7 separate regions of the Homo sapiens genome follow, and all the other regions are linked to region 1. Evidence: promoter capture Hi-C in 16 types of primary human blood cells and fetal thymus (Javierre and others, 2016). All regions are on one chromosome and are shown on one strand. The core of a region is centred on a gene start or on the middle of the fragment in contact, and the rest is flanking DNA. Distances in the headings are between cores, read along the strand shown. Region 1 holds the start of LRRC40 (leucine rich repeat containing 40). Region 2 holds the start of LEPR (leptin receptor). Region 3 overlaps TYW3 (tRNA-yW synthesizing protein 3 homolog). Region 4 overlaps LRRIQ3 (leucine rich repeats and IQ motif containing 3). Region 5 overlaps MIER1 (MIER1 transcriptional regulator). Region 6 overlaps MIER1 (MIER1 transcriptional regulator). Region 7 overlaps SLC35D1 (solute carrier family 35 member D1).

Region 1 (2,658 bases), core at 50-2,549:
TCACTGACTTCATGATATTAACCTTTTGGTTGGAGGGCAGAGAAAACAAAAAACATAAATGATATAAATTCTGATAGTGATAAATGCTGTTAAAAAATTAAACAGGTAAGAGAACAGAATGTTAGCATGATAGGTATGCAAGTTTAGAGAAAAATGTTTCAGGTTTTGGGGAAACCAAGTAGATATATATATATGCACAACTGTAGTTTGAAAATGAGTATGTTCCCATTGATCAAAAACTCTTTTAGGTGGAGTAAGGATTCTGTGTCTTTTCATTCATTCAGAAGCATTTGCTTGCCTAATCTACTTTATACATGTCACAATAAGAAAGCAATCATTAGAAGGAAAATGGAAGGTTTTAATCAGTCTTAAAACCTAAATATAAATGAAGAAAAACATTACAGGAAAAATGCTCTATTTCTCCATCTCTCCATTCCCCTCCCTCTCTCTCTTACACACACACACACACACACACACACACGACAATCAGAAGAGCATCTGGCCATTCATTCATGGTACCCAGATTTGTGCTTCTTGGTCTTTAACAGGTTTCTCAGGATGTCCCCACATTCAAACACTCTGTGTGGCATCTATCCTGATCTTCAACTTAGAAAATATACTCATTATTCCTTGTAAGTAGAACTCTGCACAGCTGCATACAGAAGAGCGTCTCGGCAGGGAACAGTGCAGGTTCACAAAGGGGCCGATAAAACATATAATTTTAGCTTTGGTAATTGCCCTTGAAGATTACAATAAGAGGAGGAAAATAAGGGCCAAAGAAACAAAAGATTTGCCCGTGATTTGATAGCTGGTTTCGTCACATATTATGTTGCTTATCCCACAGAATGTGGGAATCCCAGAAAGCGCCCCGTTTAAATTTAGACCGTATTTTTAGCAGGGTCCCTTTAACAGAGATTGCGGGAACCTGGGAAGGAACTGAACTGGGCTAACCAAACCGGTCGAAATGAGCACAGGGATTAGATTAGAGCACAGAAATTCTGGCTAGCAGTCTGAGAAAGGGGGCCAAAGCCAGCCCAGAGAAAAGGGAGGTTGCCTGGGCCAAAGGCTTTCTGACAGGAGACACAATAGGGTCGTACCTCTGGGTCTTACCTTCACTGAGGTTTCTACCCGACAGGTTTAACTGGCCGCTCTTCCTCGCTGCCTTCAACAGCCCTTGGGGTACCGAGGTACCGCAGTCTCTTCCACCTGCTTTGAAACCAGCGCGGAGATCCTGCCCCGCTATCCGCTTCAGGCGCGACATGTTCAAAGTCCTAGGTCCAGAAGCTGCAGCCCCACCCGTGACGCTTAAAGGTGGCGCCGTTGGGATGCCCCGCTCCTTTCGTGAGCGCGCGCTCTGGGCGCTGGGCTCGCGGCCTCGCGCTGGGCCTTCACTCTCTGCGGCGCAGTCCAGATGTCGTCAGCACCAGCGCCTGGGCTGGAGGACAGAGAAGCCTTTTCCGTTGCCGGTGCCGGCCTAGCGTCCTGGAATTACTTCAATCAAGTAAGTGCGTTTAACGGGCTTAAGAGGGGCTTTCGGGTTTATTGTTTGCACTGTTACTGCGACTCCAACCTTCTCCTCTGTGCTTCCACCGTGGCGAGGGTGTGGGGAAAGAGAACCCTCTCTTCTCCCCTCTCCTAGTCTGAACGTGGGCCTTGACTAAAACTTGAGATCTGGGCGCGGTCGGCAGCGTTTCTGGACCCCAGCCTGTGTTTGTCGCTTGTGGTGGTGGCGCCAGACCTCTGGCGTACGGAGTAAAAGAAATTTTCTGTTCTTAAGGCTTGTACTCTGACACCATTCTCGTTGTATTGAGGGTATATAGCTTACCCAGCAAAGGAGGTAATGTGAAATGGAAGGACTGGCAACATAGAAGACAAAAACAAAAATCCTTAAAATTTAATAAATGTTCTGTGTATCAGACAGTTTAGGGAGACAAGTAGTGGTACATGCTTTAGTGAAGCTCAGACAGCTTGGATTTTTGAGCCCTAAAAAGCAAGTTCAAATCTCAGCTGCTTCTTTACTTTAGAAACTGTTAACTTTAGGCAGTTTACTCAACCGCTTTTAAAGCTCATTCCTTTTTTTCATTACTTTGGGGATAATTCCTACCGCATAAGGTTTTTGAAATAAGTGAAGATAAAAACTAGAATCTTGAGCTCTCGGTGAGTCCAGAATAATAGCAAATGAAAATTTTGTTCAATGTAAGTCGGTGTTTCCTAGGAAATTAAAATTTTCATCTGAAATGTACAACTTCTTGATTCAACAAGTAATTATTAAGATTAATCCTGCCTAGTATGTGTACTATCCTGGGTGCTAGACTTTTCTTTTGCCTGAAATGATTTTGTTTTAAAAGCATATGCCAGGGAATACCATTCTAACCCCCATCAAGTCTACTGAGGATTGGTAGAATAGTTGAAAGCTAGGATGAAGGCCCTTTGATCAATTCTTCATCACGCACTTTTACCTGAGTCCAGGTTATTGCTACCTGTAAAATTCGGTTTTTAACTCTACCCTTTTTGTTCTTATTTCTGTGGAGTCCTTTACACTAATATCGAACAAGAGAAAGTTACCAATAGTTGTTACCCTACTAAAAAAGCAAAGAGTGGATTTTTGTCTTTTTTTTTTTTTTTTTTTTGAGACAAAGTCTGGTCTGTCGCCTAGGC
Region 2 (2,658 bases), core at 59-2,558, 4.8 Mb before region 1:
CAAGTCCTATCCTTTCTGCACCTCTTTCCTTAAATGTAAGTTGAAGCATTTGGACCAGACTGTTTCAATGATCTTCTAGATTGCTTTTGCCAAAACAGAACTCTCCATTCCTGTAAGATAAGTACACAATGGCTCTCAGAGATCTAAAAACTGGCCTTGGTTACCTGCAAACTTTGAGGCCCCAAGGCACAAAAATAATAGCTTTTTTTTTTTATTTTTTTTTTTAAGGTTCATGAAAGCTTCGGACACAAAAGCTTATATGGTCTTCGTCTCTATAAATAAACCAGGGAGTAAAGAAAAACCCCGCTAGTTTCAGTAAAGCGTTGCTATTAAGCAAAGCAAACCTATGCAAATATCAAGTTCTTAATGAGGAGTGTTTCCTAAGGGGCCTGTCCTCTGGTACCCCGCCTCTCCTCTGCCACAGTCATGTGAAGGCAGACAGGCACACACTCGCACACTAGCACGCACTTGGGAGCTCAGGGAACATAACACTGGTTAGTGAGTCGGTGTCCCTCTCCCATCGATTGCAACTTTTCCCCTCCTTCCCTCTCCTGCCTCTCCCCACTTTCTACATCTCCGTTCTCAGGAAGGCTCAGGGAGGATCCCCCGCTGCGTGCACTGCGTTCTGAGAGGCCGGGGAGAGACTCTGGGCCCGCGGTCGGGGCGGAGCCAAGGTCCCAACCCACATTGAACGGGCTTGAGGATTACTTGGAGGGCTCAGGATCTAGGAGGAGGGCCCAGGGCACTGGGTTGGGGTTACTCTGGGAAAGCTCTGTGGGACCAGGTGGGACCTTAGGGCTGGAGATGGACTCTGCGAGCTGGGGGCGGAGTTCTAGACTGGCAGGAGCGGAGTTCTGGGTGGCGGGGGCGGGGTCGGGACCAGCAGGGACGGCCTCTGAGAGTTGGGGGCGGAATTCTGGGCCGGTGAGGGCTGGGGCGGGACCAGCAGGGGAGGCCTCCGCGAGCTAGGGGAGGAGCTCTGCATTGTCTGGGGCGGGGCTTCGAGTAGCGGTAGCGAGGTCTGGAGCCGCAGGCGCTGCCTCCGCGAGGTAGGGGAGGAGCTCTGTACTGTCAGGGGCGGGGCTCTGAGTAGCGAGGCCGGGTCTGAACTATCAGGCGCGGCCTCTGCGAGCTGGGGGCGGGGTTCTGCACCGGCGGGGGCGGGGTTGTGAGTGGTGGGGGCGGGGTCTGGAGCAGCAGGCGCCGCGTTTGCGAGCTAAGGTCGGAGTTCTGCACCGGCGGGGGCGGGGCTCTGCGTGGCCGGGGCGGGCTCGGGATCCGCGGGGCGACTCCCGGTCTGGCTTGGGCAGGCTGCCCGGGCCGTGGCAGGAAGCCGGAAGCAGCCGCGGCCCCAGTTCGGGAGACATGGCGGGCGTTAAAGGTACATCGCGGTCCCCGGCTCGCTTGTCGTGTGGTGGGGTTGCCACCTCCGTTCCGGTCAAGCCTGGGGCTGCGCCTTCCGCGCGCCGTTGGGGAACGGCCTCACCACCCTTCCCGCCTCTCCGGTTCGGGAGGCGATCGACCGCTCCCTTCGTCCCTTGGGGTGTGGGTGGAGCGGCGTTTCGGGGGAGCCTTGGCCCTTTTTGCAAGGCCGCTGGCCTTCCTGCTCTCCAGTGGCGGCACCAGACCCCTCCCCAGCCTGAGCCCTCGGCGAGAGCGGCGCCCTCCACCTCTCCTGAGTTTTTAAACAAGGTTTCCACTTCTTGACGCCACCCTAACGCCTTTCTTCTGGTTTTCTGCCCCTCCGCAGTTTCCTATTTGCCACAAAGGACCCTTTGTCTCCAGCGTTCTTAGCATTGGGAAACTTAATCCTCTTTTTCCTAATGATTTTTCCAACTGGGCAGAGTTGACCGCGGGCGGGTGTCAATGGAAAGCACCCAGAAAGACGGTGTTTCTCGCAGTCGTGGAGAGTAGATTACGTGTAATTTTAATACTGCTTTCTTCGGTGTTTTCTCTGTTTATGGACAGAGAAGAAACCAGTGTGTGTGTAGTATGTGTTTTTTGCATGGGGCAGTTGGTAAAAACACCGCGTCCCTTATCTGTATGGCTTCAGAGCAATGCGAGACGGAAAAGGTTTTTTGCAAGGCTTCCTGTATTTTGGTAGGAAAACATTCCATTTCTAATCTGTCGAATAGAGTAGCATGACTTGTTTTTATATTGGCTTTTATATCATCCTTGAAATTTGCACCCAAAGATATCCCCAGTTAACATCTGCTATAAACATGTAGATAGTATATATACGAGTACGCCTCTGTTCACTATGAATTTATCCGAGTATGTGAGCTGTTAGCAGCAGACATTTTATCGTTATTTCTGGCTGACTTTTATACTTAATATCAGTTTAGTAAACATGGTTTACTTGGAGAGTGTCGACTGTGTTATATATCCATTTGAAGCCAATGCCGAAAACAGATGAAAAGTAGTGTCTCAGTACTACACATGATCAGAAACTACCAAATCATGATCACGTTTATGTGTGAATGTGTTAGAAAATTGTGATGTAGTGAAAAAAAAGGAAGTCTGAAATGGAAACGGACTAAGGGAAGGAAGCATTTTACAGATTGTTCAACTTTTATTGAGGAACTACTGTATGCCAGAGACTTAGGATACAAAGATAAATGAGAAGTTATTGGTGGGTGACAGAGCTGGAAATAATTA
Region 3 (2,658 bases), core at 75-2,574, 4.5 Mb after region 1:
TCTTGTATAAATTCTAGCTCAGACACAATATTACATGTTTCACTAGGTGGTCAGACTACGCCGCAGGATACACTGTAACATGGGTGCAGCCAAGGTTAAAAGGCAGGCAAGTGCTACCTAGGGAAGAGACTAGTACCTGACTCAAGGTCACTAACAAAAAACACGCATACTAGGCTCAAGTGTTGTAACATTTGCTTATAGCAGGAGGGAAGAGACTACACAAGATCTAGCCCTTTGCAATGTGTCAGTCCCCATGGCTAGCAGATTGGTTCCACAGCTGATCAGGGCAGAGTGATGGCATGTACCCCACTTTGTGCTGCAGTAGCTCCCAGACCCTGAACACTGCCCCATAGGGTCTGAAATACAGAAAGCTAGGAACGTGCTCAGGGGCCATTGGTTCTCATGTAGCTGAGCAGTTCCAAGGTTCCTCTCCCAAAGTTAGGAGATAGCAAAAACAAACAAGTGAACAGGGAAAAAAAAACAAACAAAAAAACTGCAAGTTGCAATTGTTACAACAACTGTGCCTGTTACAGAGGGAACAGGAACTCACTGGCTGTGCTCTGAGCTCTTTGCATGCACTGCTATTTGTGAGCTTACTAGTGCTGCTGGTAAGCACTGGTGCTTGGTACAGGATGCTTCTTGGGAACATGGGTGGCAGTTAGGCTTTGTTTGGACCCTTCTCTCACATTACATTTGTCTCTATCTCAATCTAACAAAAAATTTAAACAATCCTAATACAGTTTTTGTATACTACATTTCCTAATGAAAAATCCGTTATGGAATTAAATAAAGTAGTAGTTTACTTCTTCAAAGCACACTAATAGGTGGAAAGAATGGTATAGAAGATTTACGGGAGAACTAGAAATTTTAAGAAAATAAGCAAATAAATTTTTGGTGAAAAAGGACCAAGAAAGCAGAGGGAAAAGTTACTGCAGAAAAAATATGCTGAGTGATTCTGAAAATTTCTAAGAGAAATTGAAGTTATGTATGGGGTAAAGGGTCGCCAAAGGACAGGCCATATACTTGCATCTGATACCACTGTTCATTTATTTAGATTGTAGCTCTGAAGAAAGCAAATGGTGATGCCACTTTGAAATTTGAACCATTTGTTCTTCATGTGCAGTGTCGACAATTGCAGGATGCACAGATTCTGGTAAAATTTTGTTGTAATTGTACTTGAATTTATAGATATGTGGGTAGATGTAATTTTAAGCTTTTAACCTGCTATAAATATCAATGAGATATTACCTTATTCAACTAGTTATGTATATATTATTTATTGGTCTGCTCAATCTATTAATTTTTAATATTAGAAAAAAAGAGTAGCTAATCATTGCTAGGAAAATATAAGTCCCAGGTTATGCTTCCTGTTTTCTTTCTTAACGTTTTTATTTATAAATTTTACTTCAGCATTCTATAGTTTGTTTTTGTTTGCCAAGCTTTAAGAAAAAATACTGTGGAACTACATGTAAAATTAAGAGTTTTAAAGAATATTTCATTTTTCCCATTTAAATGAGCATGCATGAGGTAAACATCTGTTTAGTCTTGATTCTCCTTTTTATACCTTTTATATATTTATATATAAAACTGAATTGCATTTTAAGCAACAATAATGTATTGAGTCTCAGTGTGTCAAGTACTAGGGGCACAGTGATGAACAAGATTAAAGACTGTCTTGGTTCCTCTTCCAAAGTTAGGAGACAGCAAAAACAAACAAGTGAACTGGCAAAAAAACAAAAAACAAACTGCAAGTTGCAAAATGTTCTACCGAAGGAAAAAACAACCTGGTAATAGAGAACAGTGCAAAAAGCAGCTCACTTGAAGATAGGCTTCTCTGAAAAGCTTTCTTTAAGCTAAGACTTAAAGGAACAGAAAGAGCTAGGCATGTAGCTGGGAAATGAACATTCCATGAAGATGGAAAAGTATATACAAAGTTTCAGTGGGTCTAGAGAGTGGAAAGAAGGTGCCAGAAGGAGGCTGGGGCCAGGTCATTTAAGGCTTTGTAGACCAGATTAAAGAGTTTGAATTTCTTTCTGAGTTCAGGGAAAAGTTATTGAAGGGACAGTTTTAAGCAAAGAGTGGCTTTCTAGGTTTTTGTTCTGAAAAACTCAGTTCTGCTTCAGCATAGAGAAAGGAGTGCAGTAAGTGAAAAGATACGAGTTAGGAGTAGTTTGTGGTGATAGGTTGGTGTAAGGTGATAGCACCAAAGCAGGTGAGAAAGGAATAGATTCAATATGTATTTCAGCATTTGAATCAACAGAATTGTAAGGTTGTCTGGGGAAGGACAGCCAGAGGGAGGAGGAGAAAGAGGAATCAAGGATAACTACTTAGGTCTGGCTGGAGCCCCTAGCTGTATGGTAGTCGCCTTTATCCAGATGGGGTGTGCTGAAGTTGAAGTGTGTCCAGAATTGGTTCCTTCCAGTGGGTTATTGGTCTCGCTGACTTCAAGAATGAAGCCGTGGACCCTCGCAGTGAGTGTGACAGTTCTTAAAGATGGTATGTCCGGAGTTTGTTCCTTCAGATGTTCAGATGTGTCCGGAGTTTCTTCCTTCCAGTGGGTTCGTGGTCTTGCTGACTTCAGGAGTGAAGCTGCAGACCTTCGCAGTGAGTGTTACAGCTCTTAAAGGTGGCATGTCCAGAGTTGTTTGTTCCTCCCAG
Region 4 (2,658 bases), core at 53-2,552, 4.0 Mb after region 1:
TATTATTCAGCTACATATTCTGTCGAACTTTCCAATCATTATGGAAAAGTGGGGATTTTTCATATTTTGTTTTAACTACCACATGCAGCATTTCAATTTTGTTTCTCATTATTTATTTATGTTGTACATCTGAAAACTGGAATAACTCAAATGACCAGGCCCCAGAGCATGTCCCCTGAATCATATCATTGCAGCTATGGGCCCATATGATTCTACTGCCTACCAAGGGAAGCTAAAAACCACTACAATTGATATATCCTCCTCTACCAAGTTGGAAGCCCTTTACCACTTGTTGCAAATTTAAAATATGCACATAGAGGAGGAATCTAGTCACTTTCATTCATTTTAGACTTTGATAATTTTATAACTATTTTGTGAAATGTATATACACATTTGTAAATTATCAAGTTCAAATAATAATATAATGTTCAAAGGCAAATTAAGTATAGCAACACGTTACAGAACGTATCAAGTCTCCAACCACAGTTTCAAAGAAATTCTGCAGTTAAAAATAAATCAGTACCATTATCAGCAAACCTTTCCTTAGTTTGTATCAACTAAAGTACCAATTTAAAAATTATCCTACATTTTAATTGCACTATATAAACCATGTCTATAAAATAAAATGCACATCAGTTATATCTCATCTTCACACCCAACTTTGATGGCAAACACATTAAGTGTAACTATACAAGGTTATAACTCATGAATATTTAAATTAAATATTAAGAAGTAAAAACTATTTATTTTGTATATTTATTTCTTTTCCAAATGTGATACATAATAAATATTGGGAAAAAAGTTTTCAAAGAAAGTCTTTGCTGAGTGTACTAATTACCTTTAGACTTAACACTTATTCACTGAAGCTTTCAGATACTTGGAAGACAGATCATCATTATTTTAAGTAATATATTAAAATATTAGATTTGATGGTCTACATGAAAGTAATTTATTTTATAAGCATGAACTATAATATTAGATGGAAATCTGAATACTAGACTCCAGAATTATCACAACAGCTGTTATCTGCATATAAAATCAAATCATAAAAAAAGAATAAAAAGTCTTAGTTTTTAGAAAATCTAATTGTAAGGATTCTAATCAGTAACATTTTATACATATTGTGATTACAAACTATTTTTAGTTTAGAATGTCTGCAACATATTAAGTGCATCTCTATTAACAAAATAAAGAAATTATATTTTTTAAATACTTTTTATTTGGATAACAGATTTGTTAAGTAACGACTGTTTTAATAAAGAATTGCCATGGGCCGGTGCAGTGACTCATGCCTGCATAATCCCAGAACTTTGAGAGGCCAAGGCAAGAGAATGCTTGAGTCCAGGAGTGAGCTATGATCTGCCATTGCACTCCAGCATGGGTGAAAGGTTGTCTCTAAAAATAAAAATCCTGTCTCTAAAAATATAAAAGAATTGCCATAATTTTATATCACAGAAAAAATATATTTTAAAAGTTAAGAAGGGGAGAGTCTAGTAGAACAGTCAGACTAGTACATGTGTCCTGGAAAATGAACACAGAATATAGTGCATTTATAACTTAATATAAATAACCTTGGTAGCACAAAACATTATATTTTCATGGCATATTCTATATGTTTTCAAATGACATGAAAAGTCATTCAGAACAAGGAATCAGAATTCATTTGTAATTATAACTTTTTTTCTTTAAATATATTGGCTTTTTGAATTTTAGAAGGTTATATACTTCTGTTCAGAAAAAAAGCTTTTGTGAGACCTCATTTTTCAATTTTTATTTTTATTCCAACTTGGAGACTGCAAAAGCATAAGCCTGAAAAAACTAAAAGGTGGTGAGCCAGAAGATGGATATTAAACAGCCAAAATTAATAAAAACATTCACAGAAAATAATCTGCACAGAAATCACAACCTCTTAATAAAGAAATTAGCACGACAAATATTTCTTCTAGCCCAAAACATTCCTTGGTTAGCTTTCATAGAACAGATTTTGGATCTCCTAAAATTAAGCCATTAATACCTTTTTCTTAAGTGTCATAAATATTGTATTACATTAATTAAAATTTAATTCTTGACTCTACTAATTTATATTCTTCAACCACTTGCCCTCTCCCTATCCCTTTCCCCTCCCCGAAACCTCATCCTGGTATTTGGACAAAGTAGATTATGATTACACTACTGGGGAACTCCATTTGGAAAAAAAATCTACAAAAATACTAAGGGAGGAAGTATAATAAAAGTTCAGGGGTGGGAGAATGTTTCTCTGCACTACAGAAAGTTGAGGGGTGTGAGGGTTCCTCCAACAGGGCATAGTGAGAAAAAAAATATTTAAGAAATAAATTGAGAACAGGCTAGCTGAGTAAATAAATCGAAATAAAACAAACTGCAAAAAGACAATTTTTGCTTTCGTTGCATGTCAGGAAGGGTAACAGGAGGAAACAGTGGTTAAACAGAGCCATGAAGCACAAGGACTGGAAACAAGTACAGCCCTAGCTTGGCCTGACCACAGCATGCACTACGAGCTCCACAGTATATAATCCAGGACCCTATTCATTTGGCTTCAACTTCCTCATATAAAGAAGGGGGGAAAATTAAAACATTCTTCTCTATAATTTCCACACAACAGTCATAGTTATATGCCTGTAGTAATAAAAAAACAGTGTA
Region 5 (2,658 bases), core at 93-2,592, 3.3 Mb before region 1:
TTTCCAGGCTTCCCCCCACCCCCTTTCCAAATCAAGGCTACCTATTCTTGTCTTCTTTCTCTTCTAATTTTTCTTTCATTGGAGAAGCTTTTTCTTGTTTCTTTTTGCTCGTTTTATAGTAAACAAGTTCCTAAAGCCCCTTTTTTTGATTTTACATATTTGGGCCGCAGTTGGCGGGCATACAACTGCTGTTGATTTATTAATCGGAACTAAGTATACGCTACTGGAACTTTAAATAACTGGAAGTTTAAAAAATGTTTAAAATATCTGAAGTTTTGTGGGATTTGTTTTGTTTCCGTTTTTCCTTACCCGTGGAAGAATTTCAGTATTCTTTATTCCTGAGAGTTCGAGATGATGTATTTGGATTTTTTTTATGACTCCTTTGAAATAAGCCACTGTAAATTTTGATTGATAAGGCATTTCTCTTGTTTGAATTGCCATTTTCATGGTTTCACAGGCACCCCAAAACAGATTTAGGAAGGAGGGTGAGATTTTGCTGTAGCAGACAGGACTGTTTGCTGCGAGTATTCTTTTTAAAACATTCAATATCTCTAATTTACAACTAAATTTAGATCTTAGATTTATTTTCATTTCTTTTGCTCTTGGTGGTTAAAGAATTGTATTTCCAGGCACATGAATTGGAGAACGTAGTACTTTCTGTTTCCCCAAAATGTGACTGCGTTTGTTCCAGTAGACTGAGAATCGGTACCTGGATTTTAGTCCTGGTGAGGTTCTTATTCTTAAGTGTTTGTTTCCTTCATGTTTAAGGAGTTGTGTGTAGCTGGATTTATACATTTTGTCAGTTAGTGTCTTCAGTGGACCCCTTTCAGTGAATATCGGGTAAGCAGCAATGTGCTACATAGGTAATGTGGTTTCTTCTTTCATGGTGTTGCTCAGGATGGTTTGAGCTTTGAGGTGTGTAGTCATATACTAAGGCAAGATATTACTGAAGGAAAATAGCTTATACAGAGAAATTTAAGTTAAAAAACTTAAATTTAAAATTTCTGTGTTTTTAAAAAATAAATTTTATTGCCGAGGGAACTAAAAAATCTAATATGTAAAAGAAATTATGTTAACTTTTTTGTTTTAAAAATTAAAGATGGTTGCGTTATTGTAAGATAAAGGAAAAAAATATTTTGATTCACTAATCATTTCCTAATATTTTCTAATGTATGTTTTAGTTTTCTTAAATATTTTATCAGTTGGAGAATGGAATGTTTTGTGGGAACGCATGGATTGTTCAACTGCAAGAAGGAAAGAACTGGAATTTTGTTTTTATTTGGTTTTTAGTGTTTATTTAATGACCTGGTATCTTTAAACAATTTATCTTCTATATTCTTCAGTTACTTGTAGATAGTTTCATGTATAGTGAATTGGGGAAGAGTTAGAGGAACTTTCGTGATCTGTGTCCTACAAAAAAATCTAAGACAGGTGAAGAAGTGAAAAGTACAATTGATTTATAGTTTTCCTGGCCTCAATACTTGAATAATTATGACGATTTTTGAGACCAGTGGTTTTAAACAATTAGACAAAGGAGAAATGCTTGGTTGGCTTTTACTTTGAGCTCTCAGTAGATTCATTCTTTATGAAGCCAATATAAAAGCATGTGATTAAATAATCCAGATGCTGAATTATTGTGCTTTTGATCAAATAAATCTGAGGATTTAAGGATAGCTTGTGAAGTAACAGTAAGTGCAAAGCAACAGTATATATCTATTTGTTAAATCTGAGGGGGAAAACAGGTTATTGAAGAAGTATGTCTCCAGAGAAAAATGTAGGTATTATGCTTCTGGGCTTTTAAAAAAAAAAATTGATGCTTCCTACAAGAGCATGACCCTGACCATGTTTTTCCAGAAAAATATTTAATTCTTGAATAGAAAGTGCTTTAGATGAGAATAGGATATACTAATTTTTTATATTTGATCTGATTATCTTAGTCCATAATAGGAAGTATATATTGGTTCTTCAGTTGTGATAACATTAAAGCCGTATTTAATGTACTTAGAATAAATAGCATATGCTCCCTTGCTTAATACTTTTTGGCAATATTTCTCATTGCTTATTATCCCTTAAAATTATTTACCAACCTTCTAAAAGGACGCTCTCCTAGTCACACTTGAAGGAAATTACAGGATAGTTGCAGTTTTACTAACTGCAAAAATAAGAGGAAAATGAGAGAAAAAATGAGAGGAAGAAATAGTTAATCCTTTGGGTTTTATAAGGAATGTACTAGGGACCTTTGGGAACGAACAATTTGTCTTGTATTTTAGCGTTTGTAAACACGTAAGGGACTTTCTTCTCAAGGAAAAAAATCCATGGACAATTCAAGACCTGTCTTTTCACCTAGGCCACATTTCTGTGATATAAAGAGAAAATTAATGGATTTGCTTCTTTCTATTTAAGTATTTTAGTACTTTCAAAGAGGGTATATAATCTGTTTATTCACTTTCACACCTATCCATTTCTCTTTAAAATGGACTCCTTGCTTAGTATTTTTTGAGTGTATTTGGATTTTTTTAACGAAGGATTATGTTAAATGTTACTTATGAAAACATTAATTTCTACTCTAAGCAAAATGTGTTTCACTGCAGTGAATTTAAGCTTCAAATAATTCTCGACACTAATAATGAATTTTTTTTCATGTTTATACTTCAGAGC
Region 6 (2,658 bases), core at 79-2,578, 3.3 Mb before region 1:
CTTTTTGTATTTTTTACATGGACGGTGTTTCGCCATGTTGCCCAGGCTGGTCTCGAACTCCTGAGCTCAAGTGATCTGCCTACCTTGGCCTCCCAAAGTGCTAAGATTACAGGCGTGAGCCGTGTCCCACCTGACTTGTCTTTTCAGACCAACTTTCTTCATATTATGCTGTCAGTTTGTAGGTCTCCCACATTTACTACTTGAGATAGTCTATGCTTCTTTCTTAAGTTGCTGTTGATAAAACTCCAGAAACAAAGTATGGACAAGCTTGGGTCATGTGTCCACTCCAAATCTACGGCCAGGGAATACAGTTATTCCAATTATGTCAGCTACTATGGTCAAGGAGGTGAACTTTCAAGAAAAATAAGTGCTTGGAATGGAAGAAAGAACATTTCATGTGAGAAGACAAGTACAGAAGTAGAGAGTAGGAGAGGCTTGGAGGGGAAATAATAAATAATCCTTACATGATGCTTGTTTATGCTTGCTAAATCTTTACTTCAGTTAGCACAAAGCAGGAACACAAATACATGCTATTGCAATTTGAAACAGGATTCCTCAGCAAAATTGATTCTGATTTTTATTATAGTTGTAGCCCGGAGTTTGCTGCAAGATTTTCACTTTTACCTTAGATTAAATAAGAGACTTTTTATACTGTCGTGCTTCAACTTGTATTTTTGGTGGTGATGATTTTTTCTTTGTTGCTTACTAAGCTGATATTACTCACTTGATATTGGGTGACAGCTTGAGTTACAAGTTTAATACTAGTAAGTAAGCATTTTCTTTTCCTTTTTTTTTTTTTTTTAATATTCTTGAGACAGGGTCTCACTCTGTTGCCCAGGCTGGAGTGCAGTGACACAATCTCAGCTCACTGCAGCCCCTGCCTCCTGGGTTCAAGCAGTTCTCCTGCCTCAGCCTCCTGAGTAGCTGGGATTACATGCCCACACCACCATGCCTGGCTAACTTTTGTATTTTTAGTAGAGTTGGGGTTCCACCATGTTGGCCAGGCCGGTCTTGAACTCCTGATCTCAAGTGATCTGTCCCCCTCAGTCTCCCAAAGTACTGGGATTACAGGTGTGAGCCACTGCACCCAGCATAAGTAAGCATTTTCTTGATTGAATAAGTAAGGGTATTTTTTTTCCATGTGATAAAGCCCATCTAAAAATAACGTTGTGTAAAAATAAACTATTAGAAGGTATATGAAAGTGTAGTTGGGTACAAGGAATATATGGAACCAGGGATTCAGCATCACCAGGACCTCCATCTCTCCTAATCCCTGGTTGAATCCTGTTGCATCTCTTCAATTTTTTCTTTTCCACAACCACTAATTTAATTTAGGTTCTGATCATAATACAGGTGAATGTGTAGTGAATGATAGCAGTGGATTCCCACATGGCAAGCAAACTAAATCTTCCCCTGCCTAAGTTCACGTTGAGTGTTTTGTTGTGTGTGTAATTTCCCCTAAATACTTCCAGAGTGTCAGTAACTATTCAGTACGCTCAAATTGAGTCAGGAGTATAACAGAAGCCTTTAAAAATTACGTAAAACTAGAGAAAGTAGGTAAAAATAGTAATCCTGACTTTCATTAATCTATAACTGATCTTTCAGTAATGTATGGCCTTCTGAAATGATACTTTGTTTTTAGTTACTGTAAATGGTATGTCTGCTCTAATCAGGGTGACTGGCTTATTCATTTTTGTTTCTGTACCATACATTTGTCATTTGCTCTGACTTGAATGACTTTTCTCCATCTGTGCCAGTTCTATTACGATTGTAATTCAAGCATTTCCCCTCTAAATGCACTGTGATCAGGCTACTTTTGACTCTCTCTGTTCTCTGCTTAGTCAATATTGGAGGTGTTGGAGAATTTTTCTTTGAGAAATGAATTTTTTTCTTTTTCCTTTTTTTTTTTTCTTGAGACAGAGTCTCAACTCTGTCACCCAGGCTGGAGTGCAGTGGCATGATCTCAGCTCACTGCAACCTCTGCTTCCTGCGTTCAAGCAATTCTCCTGCCTCAGCCTCCTCAGTAGCTGGGACTACAGGTGTGCACCACCATGCCTGGCTAATTGTTTTGTAATTTTAGTGGAGATGGGGTTTTGCCTTGTTGGCCAGGCTGGTCTCGAACTCCTGACCTCAAGTGTTCTGCCAGCCTCAGCCTCCCAAAGTGCTGGGATTACAGGCGTGAGCCACTGCGCTTGGCCTGAGAAATGAATTTTTACAAAGTGAGTCACACTTCTTATCTGTATATCCAGGAGGGAAAAACCTTAATCTATGATTGTCAGACATTCTACATTCTTGATAATGGTTAAAAAAGAAAAATTCTTTTTCCATGTAGTTAGTATGTCACCTATCCTTTTGACAAATATTTGAGCTGGATATCATATGTCATACGATAAGCTTTATTAAAGTTAATGTTCAAGCTTTATTACCTCCCATTGGAAAGGGTGATTTGCAGGTATCTTATCCCAGACCTGTGAGATCAGTGGTTTTCAAGGTAGTCTCATACCAGCAGCATTAGCATCACCTGAGTTTTTTTTTTTTTTTTTTTTTTTTTTTTAATTGCAGGTACTCGGGCCTCACTGGAGACTTACTAGGTCAGAAAGTTGGGTGAGGCTCAGCAGCCCATTTTAGTAAGCCCTCAAGGTAATTCTGATACCCTTA
Region 7 (2,658 bases), core at 106-2,605, 3.2 Mb before region 1:
TTAGATTCTAGCCTCATTAATTGTTATTGTTGTTATTACTTCTCTAATATTTAGACTAAAACCTGAATTCTTTCCTGGCTACAAGTTTCCAAACTAACATTTTCAAATTTTTCTTCCATTTTTGACTTTAAGCCACTGAAAGTTGAAACTGTGCTTTTCTTAAAGCCCTACAAACTGAAACTAGACAACGTAAACTTCAGGAAAAATCAGAAGTTAAATACAAACAGCCTTCATGCCTACTGATGTATAGAATACTCAGAAAGTTCACTTCAATGCTGATTTGAACTATAATCCAGTAAAATCTGTCAGATTGCCACTGCAATCTGAAGATACCTCAAGGACTCTAAAAAACTCTATACACTACTCCAGACATTAACCTTGGTTTTTTCTTCTGTTTCCACAAAAACATCTCTTATTAAAGATCTGTTTCCCTTCATCATACACAGAGGCCTAGTGTACCTACAATGCCACCTTCTAAAATGGGACACAAATGTTTAATCCATTCTTAGGACTATGACTAAAAAAGATATGGGGCAATACATTTAAATTTACTCTTTTCTGCTTATCTAGATTTGTTTTTTCACTTCTTTGTCTATCTCTGATGACCTCTGGCCCAAATGGCTTTTAATATATAAAACTTTATGAAGTTTTAAAGTGAGGACTGAAGGAAATTAAAATATTTTACCCCAAAATATATTTATCTGACTTATTTCTCACAGGCCTCTAGATTAGGCCTATGAGACACAAAGTAAATTGATACATTGAAAAAGGCCAAAAAGAAACTTCAAAATTATTTTTCTAATAAAACGCCCTTTGAGAGAACCTTCAAAATTATGTCAGCCTCTTCTAGGCCTAAGGATGAAGACAGGAGGTTGCCTTAGAAAGGATTTTCCTATTATTTGAAGGGAAAAAATAAAATTAAGTATCATGTAACAACAAGGCTAGCAGGCAACTTAGGAAAGTGTATAACAGGACGTCATTTGAATACAGGGATCCAGGGAGGTGGATTAATTTATGTAAGTTGCCCAAGGAACTTCAGAAATGAAGGTGACAGAGAATCCAACCCATGCTGCTCAAAATCAGAAGTTGGAAAACCTGTAGGTATATATTAGGGTATCCTAAGCAAGGCTGGCTATCAAGAAAAGACACCAACGTCTTCAAAAAAGAAATTATCAAGAAGCACAGAAGAGTCATGATAGCTCAAAACTAAGACTGCAATTCTCAAACTTTAGTATACCCGACAATTGCCTGGAAACCCTGTTAAACATAAACATTTCTAAGCTTTACTCTAGAGATTCTGACTGAGTCTATCTGGGTAGGCCTTGGAATTTCTACTTTCAATGAGTTATCCTAAGTGATTTTCCCACCATGCTGAAGAGAAAAAGGAATGCTGACCGAAGGATTTGCAGGGGATTCTCAAGCACAGAAGGAAGCTTAAAGCCTCTTGTAGGAGGAATGGCTGAGCTAAATGGGTTATAACTGGGATGCTAATGACAGAAGCTGCACTGTATCCTGTGAGACTTCGACCCTGCAAGGGTATCAGCAGATTCCCATCTGTCTGCATGTGCAAGCCATCCTTCAACAGTGATACCCTGCACCAGTATGAAGCAAGAACAGTAGTGAACTAATCAGACAATTCAGTTTTTGCCTCCCTGTGGAGTTTGTAAGTAAAATTAATCACCCTGGAATGAGTAAATCCATGGAGTTCTTGGACTACTGTGAGGAGAAACATATATCAAAAGGAAAGTATAAACCTTATATAAGCAAGAATGACTTTATTTGTATCCCATGTTGATAATGATAAAGTACACTAAGAAATCCCAGGCAAATAGGTTTACTTATTAAAATTAAACATAGGCTTTCCGGCATCATCCGTCTCCTTAACTAAAAACATGGCCTATTTCTCACATTCTCGCTACTCTTATGCTGAAGACGAAAGCCATCCACTTTGCCCTTGAGGCATTCACTTTACAAAACCAAAACATACCTAGAGCTAATTTGGGGGAGGGGCCTAAAACTGTCTCAGCCAGCCCAATCCCTGGCATATAGATTGTCTCTAGCTTTCTAAAGGAATTCACACAAATTGACCTGTTACAGCTTAATTTGGAATTCTATTCACAGCAAACAGTTCAATTTCATGATTTGAAACCACAGACTTTCTGGATTTTAACCCAATCTAGTCTCTAAACTGAGATCAGGTGGGCACCACTCTATTGAGACTACAAAGATAAACAGCAGAGCAGTAAAAACTTGACCTCTGAAATCTCTTCCCTCACTACTGAGTAATGGGGCATCAGAAAGGAAGTCACAAGGGTAATGGCCCTCTTTTCCCCAAACGTTAAGGACCTACCTCTCTGGGTTTTGCCTTTTTAAGGAAGCAGGCCCACTTGGCTAATTCATTTGGAATTCAGACAAGCTGTGGCCTCTTGAATCATAAAGCACTAGAATCACAAAGTCAGATGAAAGAGGCCTCAGGCTTCAAGCCACCAACTTTAGCTCAATATTCAAGTCAACTTGGCTCTCCTGGCTGAAGACAAATTAGTCTGCCTCAAATAAAATGGATCAGGAGGAAATGAGATCATTGGAAATGTCAGACACAGCTTTCAAAAGTGAGCCATTTAAGGTTTGGCTCAGGCATAGGAAAACCCCCCCAATTAG

Evidence for each region. The method cuts DNA at HindIII sites, captures the fragments that hold promoters and counts their contacts. A CHiCAGO score of 5 or more calls a contact.
Region 2: the fragment with the promoter of LEPR here is called in contact with the fragment with the promoter of LRRC40 in region 1 in 1 of 17 cell types (total CD4 T cells); the score reaches 6.1 in total CD4 T cells.
Region 3: a contact is called between a fragment that was not itself captured here and the fragment with the promoter of LRRC40 in region 1, in 4 of 17 cell types (non-activated CD4 T cells, total B cells, naive CD8 T cells and 1 more). The highest score is 8.3, in non-activated CD4 T cells.
Region 4: a fragment that was not itself captured here is called in contact with the fragment with the promoter of LRRC40 in region 1 in 1 of 17 cell types (non-activated CD4 T cells); the score reaches 5.2 in non-activated CD4 T cells.
Region 5: a contact is called between a fragment that was not itself captured here and the fragment with the promoter of LRRC40 in region 1, in 2 of 17 cell types (naive B cells and total B cells). The highest score is 7.7, in naive B cells.
Region 6: a fragment that was not itself captured here is called in contact with the fragment with the promoter of LRRC40 in region 1 in 2 of 17 cell types (monocytes and total CD8 T cells); the score reaches 5.7 in monocytes.
Region 7: a contact is called between a fragment that was not itself captured here and the fragment with the promoter of LRRC40 in region 1, in 1 of 17 cell types (total CD8 T cells). The highest score is 5.3, in total CD8 T cells.

Annotation. Positions count from the first base shown.
Region 1 is chr1:70,204,280-70,206,937 of GRCh38, forward strand. LRRC40 (leucine rich repeat containing 40) reads right to left here and starts at 1,300. Exons shown (of 15, transcript NM_017768.5): 1 at 1,111-1,300. The coding sequence starts at 1,261. It also overlaps a transcript of SRSF11 not described here. RefSeq lists enhancers at 894-953, 1,214-1,523. The HindIII fragment of the contact is 8,465 bases long and covers 1-2,658 here.
Region 2 is chr1:65,419,360-65,422,017 of GRCh38, forward strand. It overlaps LEPR (leptin receptor), which reads left to right and starts at 1,309. Exons shown (of 20, transcript NM_002303.6): 1 at 1,309-1,381. It overlaps LEPROT (leptin receptor overlapping transcript), which reads left to right and starts at 1,309. Exons shown (of 4, transcript NM_017526.5): 1 at 1,309-1,381. The coding sequence starts at 1,366. RefSeq lists enhancers at 623-1,155, 1,156-1,689, 1,763-1,812 and silencers at 803-872, 893-1,392. The HindIII fragment of the contact is 9,332 bases long and covers 253-2,658 here.
Region 3 is chr1:74,737,636-74,740,293 of GRCh38, forward strand. TYW3 (tRNA-yW synthesizing protein 3 homolog) reads left to right here. Exons shown (of 6, transcript NM_138467.3): 3 at 1,055-1,153. Among named protein-coding and RNA genes, the nearest start is that of TYW3, 5.8 kb to the left of the region's middle. The HindIII fragment of the contact is 226 bases long and covers 1,212-1,437 here.
Region 4 is chr1:74,192,813-74,195,470 of GRCh38, forward strand. The region is part of intron 1 of LRRIQ3 (leucine rich repeats and IQ motif containing 3); the gene reads right to left. Among named protein-coding and RNA genes, the nearest start is that of LRRIQ3, 4.0 kb to the right of the region's middle. The HindIII fragment of the contact is 877 bases long and covers 865-1,741 here.
Region 5 is chr1:66,931,048-66,933,705 of GRCh38, forward strand. All of the region lies in intron 2 of MIER1 (MIER1 transcriptional regulator), which reads left to right. Among named protein-coding and RNA genes, the nearest start is that of MIER1, 7.4 kb to the left of the region's middle. The HindIII fragment of the contact is 2,514 bases long and covers 86-2,599 here.
Region 6 is chr1:66,952,811-66,955,468 of GRCh38, forward strand. All of the region lies in intron 4 of MIER1 (MIER1 transcriptional regulator), which reads left to right. Among named protein-coding and RNA genes, the nearest start is that of MIER1, 29 kb to the left of the region's middle. The HindIII fragment of the contact is 2,127 bases long and covers 266-2,392 here.
Region 7 is chr1:67,017,318-67,019,975 of GRCh38, forward strand. The region is part of intron 10 of SLC35D1 (solute carrier family 35 member D1); the gene reads right to left. Among named protein-coding and RNA genes, the nearest start is that of SLC35D1, 36 kb to the right of the region's middle. The HindIII fragment of the contact is 152 bases long and covers 1,280-1,431 here.